Linked DNA regions of Homo sapiens: all the other regions are linked to region 2. The links are contacts of gene promoters, found by promoter capture Hi-C in blood cells and fetal thymus (Javierre and others, 2016). All regions are on one chromosome and are shown on one strand. Each heading gives the region's core, a stretch centred on a gene start or on the middle of the fragment in contact. The rest is flanking DNA. Distances are from core to core; before and after follow the strand shown.

Region 1 (3,187 bases), core at 238-2,737, 880 kb after region 2:
CCTGGGCAACAAGAGTGAAATCCCATCTCAAAAAAACAAAACAAAAAAAAGTTGTGCATACTTCAGAAATGTAGAGATCTGCCTGTTTCAGCAGCTCTCCAATGATTAGGACATTGGAAGTCGTACCATCACCAGTTATATCATCCTGGGCTGTTGCTACCTTTGCTATTAAGGAAGCTGTTGGGTGTTGAATTTGCTGAAAGTAGAAAAAGAACGAATCACTTAAAACAATATGAAACAGTCTAAAAATACCACAAATAAAATGCATGAAGGGCCTCTTTAAGTACTATCTACTTGAAAAAGCTACCCAAGTGTTTGGCTACAAATTACTAAGATTAAAAAGTCACAATTTGCTATCATGCGCATGCAATTATAATGATGGAAACATTTTCATGTGTAATTTATTTCCCAGGTTATCTCTACTTTACAGATGAGGAAGCTTGAGGCTCAGTGAAAGTTTACGCAAGATGACAGCTAACAGTTAACAGTAACGGATAATTTTACATCCTTGCCTCTTTAGGCAAGTGTAGGGCTCTACGAGAATAAGCCAGGTATCTCCTAAAATGAAAGCTCAGCAGCCTCCACTGTTACTCTGCAATGGCCAAGTAATTTAAAAGGAAAGGTCAGGTGCGTTAGCTCATGCCTGTAATCCCAGCACTTTGGGAGGCCACAGCAGATGGATCCCTTGAACTCAGGAATTCGAAACCAGCCTGGGCTACATGGCAAAATCCTATCTCTTAAAAAAAAAAAAAAGCGGAAAAAAATTGTATTTTAAAGGTAAAATGACATGTCTGCAGCTTACCTTCAAATGATTCAGAGGAAAAATAGAAAAGAAATGGAGCAACATGTAAACAATTGGTGAATCTAGGTAAAGGGCACACACAATATAATCATTATTTTCGTAGGTTTGTAATTTTTTCAAAGAAAACTGAAAAACAGACTTCTGGAGATTGGAGAGAAGTTCCAGTGGGAGGGGACTTCTGAGGTGGTAGCAACAATTTATTTCTTAACTACAATAGTGGTTGTGTGTGTCCACTTTATAATTATTTCCTAAATTGTAAATGTTCTACGTGCTTCTCTCTACTTATGCTGTATTTCTCACACACTAAAACCCAAATAAATTTTTTTTTTTTTTTGGTGACAGTCTCACTCTGTCACCTAGGCTGGAGAGTGCAGTGGCACAATCTTGGCTCACTGAAACCTCAGCCTCCCAGGTTCAAGCAATCGATTCTCCTGCCTCAGCCTCTGGAGTAGCTGGGACTACAGGCGTACAGAACCATGCCTGGCTAATTTTTGTATTTTCAGTAGAGACGGAGTTTCACCATGTTGGCCAGGGCTGATCGTGAACTCCTGGCCTCAAGTGATCCACCTACCTCGGCCTTCCAAAGTGCTGAGATTACAAGAATGAGCCACTGCACCCGGCCCCAAAACAATTCTGACGTCAAGTTTAACCGTGGCTCCACTTTTCTGCTAACACGAGCCACCACTGAACCCAGTAAAAACAAAAACACCTCCTAGATTAGCAAGTCTTTATTAAAGATATTTCATCTGGATGTTGATAGCATGGTATACTACTAGCAAAACCCTGATTATTCTGAACTCAAATCAGCAGGAAATCATTTCCCTTTCTTGGATTTGAACTGTTAAGTTTTGGGAATTTAGGGATGAGTAAAACGCATACTCCCTTCAATAATCTCATATTCTCCATCCCTAAGACTTTAAAAATGTTAAAGCAAAGAGATTTCTCTCCCCTCCAGTTGGAGATGGAGATGAGACATAACAGAGAAATTGCTGTTTTAAAAAGAGAAAAACCGGCCAGATGCTGTGGCTCACGCCTGGTAATCCCAGCACTTTGGGAGGCTGACTCAGGCGGATCACCTGAAGTCATGAGTTCAAGACCGGCCTGGCCAACATGGTGAAATACCATCTCTACAAAAAATACAAAAATTAGCTGGGCATGGTGGAGCAAGCCTGTAATCCCAGCTACTTGGGAGGCTGAGACAGGAGAATCACTTGAACCCAGGAGGCGGAGGTTGCAGTGAACCACTGGACTCCAGGCTGGGCGACAGAGTGAGATTCTGTCTTAAAAAAAAAAAAAAAAAAAACCCATAAAGAGAAAAACCATCCTCATGCATTTTGCCCATGTGATTGTGTCAACCACCCTTAATTTTTCAAATTTTATTATAATTAATGTACAATTACAGTCCTTTAGCCCAGACTGTGAATGGCAAAAAAGCAGGGATTCAAAGACAGGGCTGTCAGACTCCAGGCACAGTCAGTACTATTACTGTCACTGTTACATGTCACTTCTGAATGTTCTCCTACCTTGAGAATGGACATTGCAAATCTTTCTACAAAGCAAAAGTTCTACGGAAAATCAAGACATTTCTGACCTAGCAGAGCACCTCTCACCATTTCGTGAAGCAGCGCACTGTGCAGGACCGTGCCCGGCTAATTTTTGTATTTTTAGTAGAGACTGAGTTTCACCATGTTGGCCAGGGCTGATCGTCAACTCCTGTGTCTTTAGTAAGCTTGATGTCTCCAGCGCCAGAAACAAGACTGTTTAAGGGACAGAAATCAATCAAATTGTGACAAAAACGAAATTAAAACGAAAACTAAATTAAAAAGTCCCATTAGAAAATGGGCTTTTCCAGCCGGGTGCGGTGGCTCACGCCTGTAATCCCAGCACTTTGGGAGGCCGAGGCGGGTGGATCTCGAGGTCAGGATATCGAGACCATCCTGGCTAACACGGTGAAACCCCATCTCTACTAAAAATACAAAATAAATAAATAAATAAATAAATAAAGCAAGCTGGGCGTGGTGACGGGCGCCTGTAGTCCCAGCTACTCGTGAGACTGAGGCAGGAGAAAGACATGAACCCGGGAGGCGGAGCTTGCAGTGAGCCGAGATCGCGCCACTGCACTCTAGCCTGGGTGACAGAGCGAGACTCTGTCTCAAAAAAAAAAACAACAAAAAACCAAAACAAACAACAAAAAAGGACTTTTCCCAGATCTCAGGGAGCCAGGGATATGGAGCTAGTTATCAACGAAAACTAAATTAAAAAGTCCCATTAGAAAACGGGCTTTTCCCCGATCTTAGGGAGCCGAGAATATGGAGCTAGTTATCTCCCGCAGGCTGGAGGACAAGTGTAGTGCCCACCCCGTCCCCGCAGAGATTGTGCAGAGTC
Region 2 (3,096 bases), core at 154-2,653:
GTTTTTGTTTGTTTGTAGGTACGGTCTTACTCTATCACACCCAGGCTGGAGTACAGTGGCACAATTACAGCTCACTGCAGCCTCAACCTCCAGGGCTCAAGCAATCCTCCCAACTCACCTTCCTGAGCACCTGGGACTACAGGCACACACCACCAAGCCTGGCTAATTTTCATTTTTGTAGAGGCAGGGTCTCACTGTTGCCCTGACTAGTCTCTAACTGCTGGGATCAAGCAATCCTCCCACCTCAGCATCCCAAACTGCTGAGATTACAGATGTGAGCCACCATGCCTGGTATCTTCTCCCGTCTCTTGAGTGTCATTTCAGGTGTTGACATGATAGTATCACACACATTAAGTAAGACCCGTGGAAGCCCCTGTGCACCAGAGCACAGCAGCCTGTGAGTGAAAGCCATGGGATGCCAGGTGACCGTGCCTACATCTATGAACTGGCCTGCCCCTTATGTGCAGACAGCTCCTTGCCTTGTTCCTTAGGTAGCTGGAGACTAGGTGTGGGCAACCACTACAGCATCCTGTTGGATTCTCTAGAAGACATCTTTTTCTTTTCTTTTTTTTATTCATCCAACCCAAAATGCCTTTGTTTTTCCAGTCGTAGTAGGGACGGGGCCTCGCTATGTTGCCCAGGCTGGCCTCCAACTCCTGCCCTCAAGCGATCCTCCCTCCCAATGTGTTGGGATTACAGGCTCGAGCTACGGTGCCTGGTCAGACACACCATCAGCTCTCGGGGCTCCAGGGTCCCCCTCCCACGGCCCACCCTCCCTCCTGTCTTCGGTAAAAGTGGGACATGGCGATGGGAGTAAATCACCCCAGTGACTACTGGGCGGAGGGTGTAGGGGGTGGGGAAGCACACCTAGTGGGTGTAATTGACAGGGGTTGAAGGTGGGTGGGTAGGGGTGCAGGTGGGCGGGGGAGTTGCAGGTGGGCGGGGGAGGGGCGCAAGTCCGCGGGCCCCGCCCCCAACCCCGGCCCCGCCCACCCGCCGAGGACCGCTATGCCCCGCGCCCGCTTCTCCCCCGCGCCCCTCCCCACGCCCCGCGGCCCGCCGCCCGCCCGGGTACCTCCTGTGGCAGCAGGGGCAGCGCGTGCCCCGCCTGCGTGGCCGTCGGCGTGGCCGGCTCCAGAAAGTCGTCTTCGGCGTCAGAGCTGGACATGGCACCGTCCTGACGACGGCTGTCTGGCTCCCGCCCCGTGACTACCACCATCCCTCTGGCTCTGGGCAGTGGGCGCGGCTTCGGGCGGGCGGAGGCGGCGGCCCCGGGCACTCCCTACCGCCGAGCAGCGCCTGGCATGACGCGGCCGGCTGCGGGCTGGCCGGAGGGGGGCGAGAGGCAGTGCGCAGGCGGGAGGGCGGTGGCTCCCTCAACGCCGACCCGCTCGCGCCCAGCTGGGGCCTGACCCGACCGCCTCCCGCTACTGGCCGACGCCGCGCTGGTTCCGCCCTGATTGGCAGGAAGCTCGCCCAGTCGAAGAGCAGGCAGCGCCAGCGGCCGGCGCCTGAGTGGTCCCTGGGTTGGGGGGGGGGGGGGGGGGCGGCCTGCGAGCCTGCCGTGCACTGATTGGTCCTCTGGCCAGCGGGCGCGCCCTCTCCGAGAGACCCGGCGGTGGTGCGCCGCTACGCTCTCATAACTGGGCGTCGGAGTCTGCCGTGAAGAGGGTTCTCACCCGCGTCAGGGTAGACGCCTTATCCCTTCACACAGGGGGTCACGACTTACTCGTGTGTCTGGCCCCAGAGCAGCGGGTCCTTGTCTCCTCAATGGAAGGCCTGAGCAGCCTTTCCTGGAGGATGTGGCGGGAGGAGGGCTGAGGTGGCTGCGGACACGCCACCGCGGCTGGCCCCGCCCCGAGCCGCAGGGCACCGCCCGGGTGTCCAGTTCTTCCTCACTCGCTCGCGCAGAAATCCGAACGAGAAAACCCAAAATAGGAGCGCTTGAGTTCAATGAATAATGACAGTGACTCCCCACCGTGACCGTTTTTCCACCGGGACACACAGATGGAGACAGGCCCTTCCCCAAGATGCTCCCGGCTCCCTGGGAGGCGGAGTCCAGCCCTAGAGGCTCTATCAGCGCAGGGAGTCTCCTGGGGGTCAAGGTTCTTAGCCCGTTCAAGCCATTTTCTCCTTTCTTTAAAAGACAAAGTCTCACTCTGTTACCCAGGCTGAAGTGCAGTGGCGCAATCATAGCTCATTGCAACCCCTGGGCTCAAGCAATCCTCCCGCCCCAGCCTCCCGAGTAGCTGGGACCACAGACGCGCACCACCACACTCAGCTGATTTTTTAAAATTTTGGCCGGGCGCAGTGGCTCACGCCTGTAATCCTGGCTCTTTGGTAAGCGATGCGGGTGGATCACCTGAGGTCAGGAAGTTGAGACCAGCCTGGCCAACATGGTGAAACCTCATCTCTACTAAAAATACAAAATTAGCCAGGCATGGTGGCACACCTGCAATCCCAGCTACTAGGGAGGCTGAGGCAGGAGAATCGCTTGAACCCAGGAGATGGAGATTGCAGTGAGGCGAGATCACGGCCACTATACTCCAACCTGGGCAACAAGAGCGAAACTCCGTCTCAAAAAAGAAAAAAAAATTTTTTTTTTTTTTTTTTTTTAAGAAATGGGGTCTTGTCATGTTGCCCAGGCTGGTCTCAAACTCCTTGCCTCAAGCTGTCCTCCCTCGTCAGCCTCCCAAAGTGCTGGGATCGCAGGCGTGTGCAACCATGCTTCTCCTTTTCAAACCGTTTTCACACCCAGTTCCTCATCTCATTCTCACAGTGTAGTGACAGAAAAGAAAACTGAGTCGTAGATTAGACAGCTCCAGGATGGCAAAGATGAGCTGGTGGCATAGCACTTCCTCTGTTAGACCATCGCACTCCCAGCTGCAGGAGTGTCCTAGGTCTGTGTTTTCTCCAACTTCAGTTGCATCAAAATCCCTGGAGGGAGACCTTGTTTAAACACAGATGAAAAGGAATGAAATCACGTCATCTGCAGCAACGTGGATGGACGTCATTATGTTAAGTGAAATAAGCCAGGCACAGAAAGACATAAATATTGCATGTTCTTATCTGTGGCAGCTAAAACAAATCGATCTC
Region 3 (3,164 bases), core at 150-2,649, 550 kb after region 2:
GTCCTCCCCAAATCTCTCGCCATTTCTGCTGAGGCCTGTTCTTTTTTTCTTTTCTTTTTTTAATTTTTGTAGCTGTGGGACCTCATTATGTTGCCCAGGCTGGTCTCGAACTCCTGGTCTCAAGCAATCCTCCCACCTCAGCCTCCCAAAGTGCTAGGATTATAGGCATGAGCCAGGGTGCCTGGCTCATGTCCTGAGGTCTCACATGCTGTCTGCCAATGGCGAAGTAAACAGAATGGTGCTAATGCTCAAAGTGGCCCTGGGCAAGGTGGAGAGGGGAGGCAAGGAAAGCGGTGGGGCTCCAGGGGTCGTACCTTCAGGCGGCGCTCATTGGCTGTGTGGATGTCCTCATCATTGGAGTTCAGTTTGAAGGTGCCCTGGGCCCACTCCTCAGCCACCTGTAGTGGGTAGCAGCAATGCCGGGGTCAGGTGAGCAGGCATCAGCAGCCAAGAGAGCCCCTGCCTTGGTCCCACCCTATCCCTGGTGACTGACTGTCCCTGCCCAGGAGCTGAGTCCTGGAAGCGCACCCTGGGAGGGGGCATCTCAGGCCCAGCACACCTTTACCCATGAGCCATGTGGGCCACAGGGGTCATTAAAGGATGGAGAGAGGCAGTCATCAAGGCACACAGTTAAACAGCACTTGAGTATATAATTAGTTCAATGTGAAACCACAGATGGGCAACACTGCACTGTTTGCTCAGGGATTTGGTGGGAGCCTGGGGCCACAGGGAAGGGGCCTTGGGTGGGGCTTGGGCCACGGCAAGTACCTTGTCTAGGCCATGGAGTATCTGGTCCATCTCGGCCTTGGTGAGGAGCCCTGCCTTCTCCAGGCCCCTGCTGTAGGCTTTGCTGCCTTGAACATCCACCTCCCAAAGGTGCCGGTCGTAGGCAATGGACGCGTTGAACTTCTCCATGATGGGGTCCACTGCACCCACAAACCGGCCACCCCAAAGCTTCCCACTCTGGCCAGGAGAGCAAGAACAATTAGTCTCTCCTCCACCCTCCAGAACAGTGCTTCTTGCAAAGAGTCTTTGGGAAACTTATCAAGTCTGATGGTAGCAGGGGCATCAGATCATTCTAACTGGGCAGACAAGGAGGCTGAGACCTTCCCAGAGTCACCACCCTGGGAGTGAGCATGGGAACATGGCTGAACACCAAAAGTTTGGGTTCTTTTTTTTTTTTTTTGAGACAGAGTCTCACTTTGTCGGCCAGGCTGGAGTACAGTGGTGCCATCTCAGCTCACTGCAAACTCTGCCTCCCAGGTTCAAGAGATTCTCCTGCCTCAGACTCCCAAGTAGCTGGGATTACAGGCACGTGCCACCACACCCAGCTAATTTTTGTATCATTAGTAGAGATGGGGTTTCACCATGTTGGCCAGGCTGGTCTTGAACTCCTGACCTCAGGTGATCCTCCCATCTTGGCCTCTGAAAGTGCTAGGATTACAGGCATGAGCCACTGTGTGTGGCCTTGAAGTTGGGGTTCTTTCCCACCACATGGCACCCCTCCAAGGAGATGATGGCAGGGCCTGAGACACCCCTGGGACCACAGCAGAACTTCTGGAACCTTTCCCACCACTGACCAAGGTGCTAGGTGCCATCCTAATTGTTGACACAACCCTCTGGGTAGGCACCAATACAATTCCACTATGAAGATGGGGAAACTGAGGCACAGAGCAGCCTGCTCTCACCTGGGGTGGGATAGCCAGGGCTGCGGCCCAGCAGTCTGAAGTCAGAACCTATGCTTTTCACCCCTGTTCCACCAGGGCTTCTGGACTTGGCTCTGGTGTCCAGAACCTTTGCTGCAGGGACAGGCAAAGAGGCCTTGAGGGTCTCCACCAAGCTTAAGTGCCCTGCAACTCTCTCCCTCACAGCTTGGAGCTGGACTAAGATCCCAATTCCTACCACTCCCTTGGCTCTGAAAAGCACCCTGACACCCCCCATTGTCACTGGCCTTCTAGGAGGTCACTGGGTGATCCCTTACTCCCCAGGAGCCAAGGGCAGAGGAATGGTATGTAGGCATCTATGTTTTGTTCGTTTTCTTTGAGATAGAGTCTCACTCTGTTGCCTAGGCTGGAGTGCAGTGGCGTGATCTCGGCTCACTGCAACCTCCACCTCCCGGCTTCAAGCCAATTTTCCTGCCTCAGCCTCCCGAGTAGCTGGAATTTCAGGCGTGTGCCACCACACCTGGCTGAGTTTTATATTTTTAGTAGAGACGGGGTTTCACCATGTTGGTCAGGCTGGTCTCGAACTCCTGATCTCAGGTGATCCCCTGACCTTGGCATCCCGAAGTGCTTGGGATTACAGGCATGAGCCACTGTGCCGAGCCTGTTTTGTTCATTAAAAAAATCTTTTTTAATTCTTTTTTTTTTTTTTTTTTTTTGAGATGGAGTCTCTCTTTGTCACCCAGGCTGGAGTGCAGTGGCAGGATCTTGGCTCACTGCAAGCTCCACCTCCCAGATTCACGCCATTCTCCTGCCTCAGCCTCCTGAGTAGCTGGGACTACAGGTGCCCACCACCATGCCTGGCTAATTTTTTGTATTTTTTTTTTTCAGTAGAGACGTGGTTTCACCTTGTTAGCCAGGATGGTCTTAATCTGACCTCGTGATCTGCCCACCTCGGCCTCCCAAAGTCCTGGGATTACGGGTGTGAGCCACCACACCCGGCCTTTAAATTCTTTTTTAGACACAGGGTCTCACTTTGTTACCCAGGTTGGAGTGCGGTGGCACCATCATAGCTCACTGCAGCCTCAAACTCCTGGTCTCAACCAATCCTCTTGCCTCAGCCTCCCCAATAGTTGGGACTACAAGCATGCGCCACCACACCCAGACATTTTTTTAAAATTTTATAGGACTGGGAGTGGTGGCTCATGCCTGTAATCCCAGCATTTTGGAAGGCTAAGGTGGGTGGATCATGAGGTCAGGAGACAGAGACCATCCTGGTCAACATGGTGAAACCTGGTCTCTACTAAAAATACAAAAATTAGCCAGGCGTGGTGGCACTCGCCTGTAGTTCCAGCTACTTAGGAGGCTGAGGCAGGAGAATCGCTTGAACCCGGGAGGCGGAGGTTGCAGTGAGCCAAGATCACGCCACTGCACTCCAGCCTAGGTGACAGAGCAAAACTCTGTCTCAAAATAAATAAATAAATGAACAAAATAAAATAAAAT

The links. The method cuts DNA at HindIII sites, captures the fragments that hold promoters and counts their contacts. A CHiCAGO score of 5 or more calls a contact.
Region 1: a contact is called between a fragment that was not itself captured here and the fragment with the promoter of KCTD7 in region 2, in 2 of 17 cell types (neutrophils and non-activated CD4 T cells). The highest score is 7.4, in neutrophils.
Region 3: a fragment that was not itself captured here is called in contact with the fragment with the promoter of KCTD7 in region 2 in 1 of 17 cell types (endothelial precursors); the score reaches 5.8 in endothelial precursors.

What each region holds. Positions count from the first base shown.
Region 1 is chr7:65,751,536-65,754,722 of GRCh38, reverse strand. The region is part of intron 2 of LINC03006 (long intergenic non-protein coding RNA 3006); the gene reads left to right. It also overlaps the pseudogene CCT6P1. Among named protein-coding and RNA genes, the nearest start is that of SNORA22, 2.4 kb to the left of the region's middle. The HindIII fragment of the contact is 2,092 bases long and covers 442-2,533 here.
Region 2 is chr7:66,627,188-66,630,283 of GRCh38, reverse strand. KCTD7 (potassium channel tetramerization domain containing 7) reads right to left here and starts at 1,403. Exons shown (of 4, transcript NM_153033.5): 1 at 1,076-1,403. The coding sequence starts at 1,219. RefSeq lists silencers at 1,043-1,612, 2,623-2,822. The HindIII fragment of the contact is 8,113 bases long and covers 1-3,096 here.
Region 3 is chr7:66,079,602-66,082,765 of GRCh38, reverse strand. It overlaps ASL (argininosuccinate lyase), which reads right to left. Exons shown (of 17, transcript NM_000048.4): 3 at 769-963; 4 at 315-398. Among named protein-coding and RNA genes, the nearest start is that of ASL, 5.4 kb to the right of the region's middle. The HindIII fragment of the contact is 886 bases long and covers 957-1,842 here.